Linked DNA regions of Homo sapiens: region 1 is linked to region 2. Evidence: promoter capture Hi-C in 16 types of primary human blood cells and fetal thymus (Javierre and others, 2016). All regions are on one chromosome and are shown on one strand. The core of a region is centred on a gene start or on the middle of the fragment in contact, and the rest is flanking DNA. Distances in the headings are between cores, read along the strand shown.

Region 1 (5,386 bases), core at 674-3,173, 360 kb before region 2:
GTGGTGCCTAGTAGGAAGAGTTCTCCCAGGAACCCTCCACGTGTGCTATGGGATTTCTGAGAAAACCAGTTCTGAGTTCTAGGCAGTGGACTCACAGTTGAACTTGGAGGGAACCAAGAATTGCTTCCATCATAGCCTTACTAAGAAATGACCATGGCATGGCCTGAGTGCTTCGGCATGGAGGACCAGAAGGGGAAGCCCTAATTTGCCAGTTGCAGACTCTTGAGCCTTGTGACTCTAATGACGACAAAAATTAGGAGATTTTCTAGGACTCCACGTTTGCGATTTTGAGAGTAGTGCTGCTGGGGTTCCTGGTTTGGGTTCTATTGATTGTTTCATTGTTTCTGTGTGCAAGTTACCCTCTCTAAGCTTAGTTTAATTAATATTATATTAAGTGAGGTAGTTAGATTATATGAACCCTAAGGCTCCTTTTATTCTTAACCTTAAAATAAAAACATTTTGTAAACAGTTTTTCTTTGTGTGTGTGGTGGCCTTTTCTGTGCCTCTGCTTTGGATGAGGTTACAGGGCTGAGTGCGAGTGAGTCATTAGTGGTTCCTTTGATATAAGACAGGTGATACTATTGAACACTGTTGGTGGTAGACCAGTGGTTCTCAAAGTGTGGTCTCTGGACCAGCAATAGCTGGGCTTGGGAACTTGTTAGAAACTCTAGCTGTCAGCCTCCACCCCAGACCTACTGATTAAAAAACCGTAGGAGTGTAACCAAAACTCTGTGTTTTAACAAAGTCTACAAATGATTCTGATGCATGCTAAAGTTTAGGAACCACTAGAGTAGAGTATGTGCTTTAAGATTTGGGTCTACCGGCCAGGCGTGGTGTCTCATGCCTGTAATCCCAGCACTTTAGGAGGCCAAGGTGGGTGGATCCCAAGGTCAGGAGTTTGAGACCAGCCTGGCCAACATGGTGAAACCCCATGTCTACTAAAAATACAAAAATTAGCTGGGCATGGTGGTGCATGCCTGTAGTCCCAGATACTCGGGAGGGTGAGGCAGGAGAATTGCTTGAACCCAGGAGGCAGAGGTTGCAGTGAGCCGAGATTGCGCCATTGCACTCCAGCCTGGGCGACAGGGCAAGACTTGGAAAAAAAAAAAAAAAAGATTTGGGTCTACCACTGATGGATCCTTACATTCCAGTCACTGTCATGGTCACAGCAAGTAGTTGCATGTCTGTGCAAATATTGCAATAAGATGTTTATTCAGCTTGGCTTGGTGAACAGTCCTGTGACTCTAAAGCAGAAAATGTTCCTGGCCTGTGCTAGGACTGGACCCACACTCTCCTCCTTGGTATTATGTCCCATCCACTCCTCTAGGTGAGCATCTGCATGGAGGAGGGGTTAGCAAGGAGGCAGGCTGCTTCCAGAAGTTGTGACAGAGTGCTGTTGGATGTGCTTCTGGGGAGACTGATGTAATTGGAGAAGTTTGTGCATGGTTAGTTTCCACACATTTTTAAAGTATGAAACTGTCTTGGGTTTCTAAGTCCTTGGTAGATATATCTGCGTGCATCTGTCGTGAAGATCAGTGGTGATGAAAGGTCTCAGGTGCCATAGAATAAGCAATCTGGTGACCCTGCTGCACACTGAGTTTAGAGTTCTGATTCAGTTTGGTTTCCCTTATCTAAATGTCCACTCGTGAACTAGAATGAGGTGACCAGATGGTCCAGATCACCCAGGACTGCCCCGTGTTTCCCCTTCCTGTCCCTCTCAGTCTGGTGTCTCGGATTTGTTCCTGTGTTGCCCACTCCTGCTGGATCTTGTCCAGTCGAGGGACAAACGTCCTGAAGAATGGGAAGAAAGGAGGTTCTGAAGGCACAGATTCCAATACCATGCCAGAGGTTGAGGACACTGGTGCTTGAAGGGAAACTGGCACACTCTGGAGCCCCAAGAAGAGCTGGAGCTGGAGGCATGCGGCCCACGAAGGGTAGAAGTAAGTTCATTTCTCTGGTAGGGCTTAGGGGAGGGGTAGTCACAGGTAGGGCTTGGGATGTGGGGCTGGGATGGCTCCTACAGGGCCAGAAGGCAAAGAAAGGGCAGCAGATGGGCACAGCAGGGACAAGGGTGTGGTGAGGAATCTGACTGCTCCAGCCCAAGCTGGCATGGCCTCTCTGCTCTCGCCTTCTGCCCTCTTTCTGTAATCTTTCATCTCTGAGGATGTTGGGCCATTCCTGGGTCCCTCCTTCTTCCTGCAATTCTCTCTACCCTTCCACCCTGTTGCCCTCTCCCCTCCCTCGCTTCCTATTGTGTCCTGCCCACTGCCGATTCCATCCTCCTTATCTCATGTCTATCCATGATTGACATGATGGAAATGGCACAGTAGAGTCCAATGGTGATAAGCACTCTCCGTGTTTGCAGGTACCAGCCATGACCAAGAGCCCTTCACATCATCTGGCAATCCATCCAGAACCCACTGAATGGAGGACAGCACAGCGAGGTCTTTCTCATTTTGTAACTGCAAAAGCTGGAACAAGAGCCAGAGAAGCCAAAGAAGCAGTACAAGTCCAACAGCTTTTAGAATAACCCTGAGAAAATGGTTGAATTTTGACCAGTTTTGCAATTGGATACTATGAGAAGAGACCTTCCCTCCTGCACTGGATTTCATCATCATACCTGGAGGCCATTCCTCATGGGACTTTGGCCATCTCATATCCACCTTTAAGCATGTTATTCCCATTTCAGCTGTGGTAGCTCTGGGTATCCTTCCCTAGGAGAAAATATTAATCTTTTCTCCCTCTGAGTTCTGGATTAAACTGTCTTATCTGAAACTGGGTCACTTTAGGCTAGAAGCACCACTAGACATTCCTGTTCTCAGAAGTTGCCAAGTTCATGTCATATCTGTTTCATTGTTAACGGGATCCACTTCTGCAAGAGGCTGCCTGGCCAGATCAGTGTGTCTCCTGGTCAGCTCCTTGATGCCCTTCTCCTCTCCCCTGCCCAATCCCAGCTGAGACTTGCACTGTGGTGACTCTGTCCCCTCCTGGTGCTTTGACTGGATGTGTGAGAGAAAGTATGGTCTGTGGCACTGACATCTTTGTGTGTTTGGAGGTGACTGGAACACGGATCCACCCCTGGAGGAAGGTGGCCGTGAAGGAGGCCAGCCTCAGCTCAGCGTTCTACTCTCATCGCTCTTACTCCCGCCTTTTTAGTGCCTGCCCTACTCCAGGATAATTGTGCTTTTCTTTTTTCAGTTAAATGTTAGCATTGCTATTTTTCATTATTGCAAAGCAGCACATGCTTGTTACAAAAACTTTGGAAGTGTAGACAAATAAAAAGAAGAAAAAGCTACTTCCAAATCCTACTTACCCCAAAGACAAGATGATCATTTAGTCATATAGTATCATACATATATAATATGTACACATATATTTTAATGTAAGTGTAGTGTCACAATATCATGTATAGTCTTTCATAAAACACGTTGGCACTTAATATCTTATATGAACAACTTTCTAGAGCAACAAGCTTAGTTTACAGCAATTGTAATGTAAGAGTACTCATTTACATAGCTACAGCATCCTTTGTTTACCTCATCTCTTATGGTTTGATGTTTAGGTTGTTTCCAACTTTTCTCCACCTAAACAGCATTAATAAATGTGGTTTTAGTTTCCTCTTCCTATGACTAATTATTTCCTTAAGATGAATCCCCAGAAAAGAATCAAAAGAAAATTTGCAAAAGTTACAAAGATGTCAAAGTATGGAGCCAGCATTAACTGCTCAGAACCCAAATGCATGAGAGACTAGGTTGCTGGGAAGGCCACATATGCCCTTTCCTGGATGCCTTTATATAGCCACACTTGGGTGGCTCTGGCTTCCGTTGCCTTGCCTGGAACAGGGAATACCCATGAATGATGACTGAGGTGAGCAGGCAGTGAATGAGGGAGTGGTGTTGTCTCTTTGGGGTTAGTATGTGGCTATATCCCATGAGTGCTCATTGGATGCTGAGAAACAGTCATTTGTTCATTCTTTCATTACCCATCTATGGAGGAGCCGCTGTTGCAAGGCACCAGGCAAGAGGCTGAGAAGACAAAGATGAATTAAATAGGGACTTCATTCTTGGGAAGATCACAGCCTGGCAAAGGCCAGTGACTCATCACACACATTTACTTCACAGTGTAGTAAGAGGAAAAACAGAAGTTCAGTAATGCATCTCAGGGCAGAAAACTTGGAAAAATCTGAAAGTCCCAAGGAAAAAATATGAAACATCACATAATCCTCTGGCCCATTCCTCACAGCGAACACGTTCAGGTGTATCCTTTAGGCTATGAGCCTGGCTTGCTTGTGGTCATCCTCACCGGATACAACCTTGACGGCATTGCCTGTGTCCTGCATTGGCACCTCTGGTGACCTGGCACCATCTTAGACAACTTCCTCTGAAATCTATTAAATGAAAAATCCAACAGGAGTTAACAGAATGAAAGGTAAATGGATTCATGAGTTGAAACAAAGTCTCCATGTTTTATGTATGTAGGGAAATTTGCATTAATTCATATCCTTCTGCACAATGGAAACTTTTTCAAATATTTCATTGTAAAAGTAACATGCACATTTCAGAAAATTGGGGGATGAGAGAAAAGGAGAATGTTACCATATTTCACTATCTAATCCAGGGCTGACAGCATTCTAGTGACCGTCACCCTGAAAAATTTGTATTAAGATGATGTGAGGACGAGAGCTGAGGAATGAATGTTATTCGTGCGTTGGTTTTTCCAGTTTACTTTTTATTTATTATTTCTTTTTGAGATGGAGTCTCACTCTGTTGCCCAGGCTGGAATGCAGCGGCGCAATCTTGGCTCACTGCAACTGTCTCCCGGGTTCAAGCAATTCTCCTGCCTCAGCCTCCAGAGTAGTTGGGACTACAGGCACCAACCACCATGCCTGGCTAATTTTTGTATTTTTCATAGAGATGGGGTTTCACCATGTTGGCCAGGCTGGTCTTGAACTCCTGACCTCAGGTGATCCACCTGCCTCGGCCTCCCAAAGTGCTGGGATTACAGGTATGAGCCACCATACCCAGCCTCCAATTTTATTTTTAATTAAACATACTTGACAGGTAATTACATTCATATAGTTCAAAATTCAAATAGTATAAAAGCATATAGAGTGAAAAGTTTACATGCCCAGCCATCTAGTTCCCTGGGACACCTAGTGATATCAGTTTAATGTGTATCCTTCTAGAGTTTTTGTGCCTATAAAACCATATATGTATATAAAACATGAGTTTTTAATGGAAGGCTTGGCAATATTATTACTGAATGTTCTAAGTTTAACCTAAACTATCCCTGTTGTTCCTAGTGGCAGGCCTGGGGTATAGGTGAAGAAGAGAGAAAAGGGCAGAAAGAGGCGTGTGTGTGTGTGTGTGTGTGTGTGTGTGTGTGT
Region 2 (5,467 bases), core at 698-3,197:
TCCTTCTTTCTTCTCTTCACGGTCCAGCGATTTGAATTCTCTATCCACCCCCAAGCAGCCCCCAGCCCTGCTTAATTCCGTATTCATATTCTTGCAGAGGCTGATAGAAATGACTGTGAGTATTGCTCACCTCATTCCAGAAATACTCTTCTAAATTCTTCGAGAGGCACGACGTGGGAGGGCAGAGAGCACCTCACGGGGAGTCCCTTGTGCTTTGCTTGATAGACCAAGCCACCTGCCCGCTGGGTGGCCTTGACCAGGCCCTGCTCCTCTCTGAGCCTCGTGGGCAGTCCTGAGCTGACTCCCCTGTGATAATAGCTGCCTCCTGGGGTTGTGGTGAGGAAGAGTCGATAGTGCTCCAAGCACGTAGTAGGTGCTCAGGAAACATTTGTTTGTTTTTTTCACAGGAGCCAGCTCAGTCTCCAGGAAGGAAGATCCTGCTCTCACCCTCCATCAGTTCTGCCAGTTTCTCCAGGATTTCACACATGCACGCTTGCTCTGGGCACACCCTAGGAAGATGCAAACTTGCCTGTTCCTGGTGGTCACCTACTGTCCCCTTCATAAATGTCCAAGGACAAAGGAGCTGCTGAATACAGGAACTGAGCATTGGGCATCCTGGGTTCTGTAAGTGGAAAGCCAGGTGTGCATCTCTTGACCCCCCTGCCCTCAGGAAGCACTCGCAAGGCCCCTACTGTGTGCAGGGTAGGTGTCAGGCCCTGCCTCCTCTGGGGCTCTGGACCTTGAGATTGCAGGGGAGATAAGTGCAATGGGATGAGTCAGGCAGGCACGAGAGGCACAGGCCCTGGGAATTCCAAGAAACGAGAGGGCCTTTCCTGTTGTGCCTGGAGACAGGGTCCCTGAGAAGACTCCAGCAGGAAGTGGACTCTCAGCCAGGGCAGGAACAGAGGGTGCCTGCCGGTTCCCTGAGCTGCTCAGCACAGCTGTGGTTCATCCCTGCTTTCCCCTCCCCGGCAAGGCTTCTGGGCCAGCAGAGGGGCAGGAGCAGAATGCCAGTCCCCAGAGAAGTCCCCTGGCTTACTTCTTTTGCAGACAGTAGCCCCCGGTGGAAGCCAAGACATCCTGTCATGGCCAGGACAGGAGACTGTTCAAGGGGCGCTTTGTGTGTGTGTCCTCAGGGACATCTTTCTGGAAAGGGGTCTGAAGCCACCTTCTTAGTCTCAAAGGAGCCTGTAAGCCAAGCAGGTGAAGTACCTTCTTGTTTTGGCCTTGTTTGCAAACAAGGAAACAGGCCCAGGAAGGATGCCCTTGGCCATGGCTGCATAGCTGAACAGCTTCTGGAAGGGACTAGAACTCCTGCCCCAGGCCCTGGGGTGACAGGGCAGGGGTTGAGGGGGGCATTTCCTGGGTGAGGTGGGGATGAAGCAGTTCCAGGCTGGTCAGAAGTCAGGCATGAGCTGTGTCCTTCACAGAGGGAGGCAGGCCCAGAGAGGGCTCTGACTCGCCCAAGGCCACACAGCCTTGCGTGGGCCTTTCACATCCCACACAACAGAGGGGCATCCTCAGCCTGGTTGGCAGAGGGCAGGCAGGATAGATGGCAGAGTCTTCTCCGAGGAGAGGGGTTTTGCTCATGGAACCTCCTCCTCCACACTCACAGCCCTGGGCGAGACCTGTGGAGCAGCCGCCAACAGAGTGAGGGAGGGGGCTCGGGGCAGCTGGGGGTGACTTGAGGAAGTCCAGCTGGACTGCGAGGGGCCCCTGGGGACTGCCAGGGAGCCTCAGGACTCCCAGAGGTGCTCCAGGCACAGAGGGAGGAATGGGCCTTCCATCTCCCTCCCCCCTTCACTGCAGAGGCTGGGTCGGGCCAGGCGCCCGGGGAGGAGGCGGTGTCCCTGGCTCCCAGCCCGCCGGTGCAGCGGGGCAGGGCTGGACCAGAAGGGGTGGGGCACCGTGCCTGGTATAAGAGGCAGCCAGGGCACCGAGGCAATGAGCTATCTGCTCAGCTTAATAGCAGGACGCTGGCAACAGGCACTCCCTGCTCCAGTCCAGCCTGCGCGCTCCACCGCCGCTATGGTCTCCGTGCCTACCACCTGGTGCTCCGTTGCGCTAGCCCTGCTCGTGGCCCTGCATGAAGGTGAGCTGCCCTGGCCTCACCTGCTGCCTACAGCTCCTGGGTCTGCCTATCTCTGTCTCCCTCTAGGGCTGCAGTGCCTCCCAAGCCAGCTGGGGGCAGACAGGGGCGGGAGCCTGGCGGCAGTGGTGGCAGGGGAAAGGTTCTGCAAATACAGAGGTGCCCAGGCTCCCCACGGGCTGCTGGGACTTCCCTGGGCTGGCCTGGAGCTCTTGAGCAGCAAGAGTGCCAACTCCCTCGATTATGCAAGAGGAGGGGCATGGTGGGTCCCCCACTCTGGGATGTGCCAGGCACCCCAACCCACCTCTCCACCTCTCTCTCCCTCCTGTGCATGCAGGGAAGGGCCAGGCTGCTGCCACCCTGGAGCAGCCAGCGTCCTCATCTCATGCCCAAGGCACCCACCTTCGGCTTCGCCGTTGCTCCTGCAGCTCCTGGCTCGACAAGGAGTGCGTCTACTTCTGCCACTTGGACATCATCTGGGTGAACACTCCTGAGTGAGCATCCATGGGGATTGGGGGCAGGGGGAGCTCTGGGGCAGGGTGTCAGGGTGGAAGCTACTGGCATGCTAGGGAACGTTGACACATTCCATCTCTCCCTGGGCCTCCAGATGGAGGCACTGGCTAATATCAATAGTTAATTGTTTCAATTCCTGAGTGGGGACCACCTGAGCCATAGAGAGGGCTGTCTTCTGAGAATTCTTAAGACAGCCTGGTAAGCAAGTGTTGGCCCCGTTTTCCAGATTCAAGTGCTGAGGCTCAGAGAGCTTAAGCGCCTCCCCCAAGATCACACAGGTAATTGTAAGGGTAGGCACCATCCTCGGTTGGGGAATGCCGGAGCTCACAGTCTCTGTCATGCTGCCTCTGCATGCTCTTCCAATAATAATACGATTAGTGACAGCACCCGTGCTTTGACTATGCCAGGCTCTTTGCCAAGCACTGCACGTGCATGATCATCTCAGGAGCCCCCCCATCCTCCCCATAAGGCAGGATAGTCCCTCAAACGACAGATGAGAACCTGCCCTGTGCTACTGGCTACACCCGGGTGGGAGCCCCGTGCTGTCTGTTCCGCCTGCACCCGCACTGCCTCCAGGCCACTGCATACCTTCAGTTGAAGTTTCTGTGTGTGTTTGTGATTTTTTCCCCTCCCCAAATTGCAAAAGGCAAGAGAAGCCCTGCACGTAAGCGTGTGTGAAGCTAATCCGCATCCAAACACTTGCTTAGGGCGGGAACCCTGCCAGTCCCTGCGTGCTGAGTCTACCTGGAGTCACTGCGACTCCAACCACACCATCTAAAATTAGCTCTGTCACTCGAAAGTGCTGGTCTAGCCAGCCACAGGGCCCCTGCCATTCCCCTGGCCCGCTTGATCAGACTCTGAATCTGAAATTAATCCCATCTGAACACACACACACACACACACCCCACTTTCAAGTCAAGCCTCTAAGGCACATGTGTTACCCCTCCAGGCAAGTGGGGACCAGATGGGGGCAGCTTAGCTATGAGCCTGTGTTTACTTCTGTGAGATGGAGTGGCCGCCCTTCCTCCAGAGCTAGCTGAGAGCCTTCTTTGAGAACAGGGGGACCAGCCTGTCTGAGAGGGGAGAGAGACTAGGAGGTTCCCAATTCCCAACTTCAGGTAGGATCACAGATTTCCTTGCCCCCATGCTGGGAGCTCTCAGTGAGCCAAGCCAGGCCCAGAGAAGGGGAGGGTCTTGCCAAGGGCTACCAGGACCCTTGTGGAGTAGCCTGTGACTTCAGTGGTGTGACTTCTTGAGGTCAAGGGCTGGTCACCTTTCATTGGCACCCTGCTGGCATGGGTGGCTGTCCCAGTGGGCAGTGTGGACAGTCCCTGCTTGCCAATGGTTGTGGTTTATTTAATCCTCTCTCTCTTTATTTTTTTCTCTCTCTCTCTTTCTCTCCACCCCACACCACTACCTTGCTGGCTGCCCGCCCACAGACAGACAGCTCCTTACGGCCTGGGAAACCCGCCAAGACGCCGGCGCCGCTCCCTGCCAAGGCGCTGTCAGTGCTCCAGTGCCAGGGACCCCGCCTGTGCCACCTTCTGCCTTCGAAGGCCCTGGTAGGTGGGCACCCAGCCTGCAGGGGCATAGGGTAGCTGCAAGCCCGGGCATGCCCTGGGGAGCAGGTGTCTGGGAGACTAGCAGAGGAGCGAACTGGCAAGTTGGGGGTGAGAAGCGACCCAGGGGCCCACAGGCTGCTTTGGGTCCATGGCACCATCCCTTCTTGCAGGAACCAGTCACCCATGGGGGCCTCCCGGTGCCCAGCTCTGGGGGCTTCTGGGAACACTCATGTCCTCACTCCTGGGCAGGAGAGAGTCTGCCAGTGACAGCTGAGGCAGCTCAGGCCCAGAGAGGGGGCAGGACACGTCAGGCTGCATAGCTTGTCAGAAGGAGGGCCAGGCCTTGGGCCTGAGTCTGTCTGATCGAGTCCTACTGGGCTTTGGATTCCGACCTGAGGTTCAGGGGGACTTTGGAGCTTGCTCGGGGAAGAAATGGCATCTGGAGTTGGGAAGCCATGTCACCATCCCAGGGTGGCCCCAGAGTTGCTGGGGAGCCTTTGCCATGTCTCCTATCTTACCTGAGCCTAAGTTTTCCCATCTGTAAAGTGGTGGGAGGCTTTGTTCCTTCCCTCACCCACATGGAGAATTTGGGAAAACCAAACTGGCTTCAAAGTCCCAAGCTTCCGGCCGCGCACGGTGGCTCACACCTGTAATCCCAGCACTTTGGGAGTCCGAGGCGGGTGGATCACCTGAGGTCAGGAGTTCAAGACCAACCTGGACAACATGGTGAAACCCTGTCTCTACTAAAAATATAAAAAAATTGCTGGGCATGGTGGCGGGCGCCTGTAATCTCAACTACTCCGAAGGCTGAGGCAGGAGAATCGGTTGAACCTGGGAGGCAGATGCTGCAGTGAGCCGAGATCGCGCCATTGCACTCCCGCCTGGGCAACAAGAGTGAAACTCAGTCTCAAAAAAAAAAAAAATCCCAAGCTCCAGTTCCCATGATGGTTTACGAGAAACTCCTCCTCTGGGTCTCAAGCTGAGGCCCCGCCCCTGCCTCAGTTTCCCCTGCAGCTGCAGGTGGCCAGATTCTGGGAAGGCCAAAAAAGCTGCCTCTTTCTGGGGCTAAGAACACATTCCTGGTAGCTCAGTTTTCCTCAGTCCCCACCCCACCTGGAAAGGGAAAGATGCCAGGTGCACAGGGGTGGAAATGGATCTGCTCCCGCAGGCAGGTGGGGATGGGGAAGGGGTGGGGGCTGGGCTGGGCCTGCAGCCAGGTAGCTTCAGGGCCCTGGGCAGTCCATCACTTGGGCCCTAATGCTATTCACGTAGGACTGAAGCCGGGGCAGTCCCAAGCCGGAAG

The links. The method cuts DNA at HindIII sites, captures the fragments that hold promoters and counts their contacts. A CHiCAGO score of 5 or more calls a contact.
Region 1: a contact is called between a fragment that was not itself captured here and the fragment with the promoter of EDN2 in region 2, in 1 of 17 cell types (erythroblasts). The highest score is 5.1, in erythroblasts.

What each region holds. Positions count from the first base shown.
Region 1 is chr1:41,845,425-41,850,810 of GRCh38, reverse strand. The region is part of intron 1 of HIVEP3 (HIVEP zinc finger 3); the gene reads left to right. Among named protein-coding and RNA genes, the nearest start is that of HIVEP3, 71 kb to the left of the region's middle. The HindIII fragment of the contact is 3,103 bases long and covers 372-3,474 here.
Region 2 is chr1:41,481,163-41,486,629 of GRCh38, reverse strand. It overlaps EDN2 (endothelin 2), which reads left to right and starts at 1,947. Exons shown (of 5, transcript NM_001956.5): 1 at 1,947-2,092; 2 at 2,427-2,583; 3 at 4,042-4,164; 4 at 5,437-5,467. The coding sequence starts at 2,029. RefSeq lists enhancers at 1-840, 3,689-4,675. The HindIII fragment of the contact is 6,202 bases long and covers 1-4,786 here.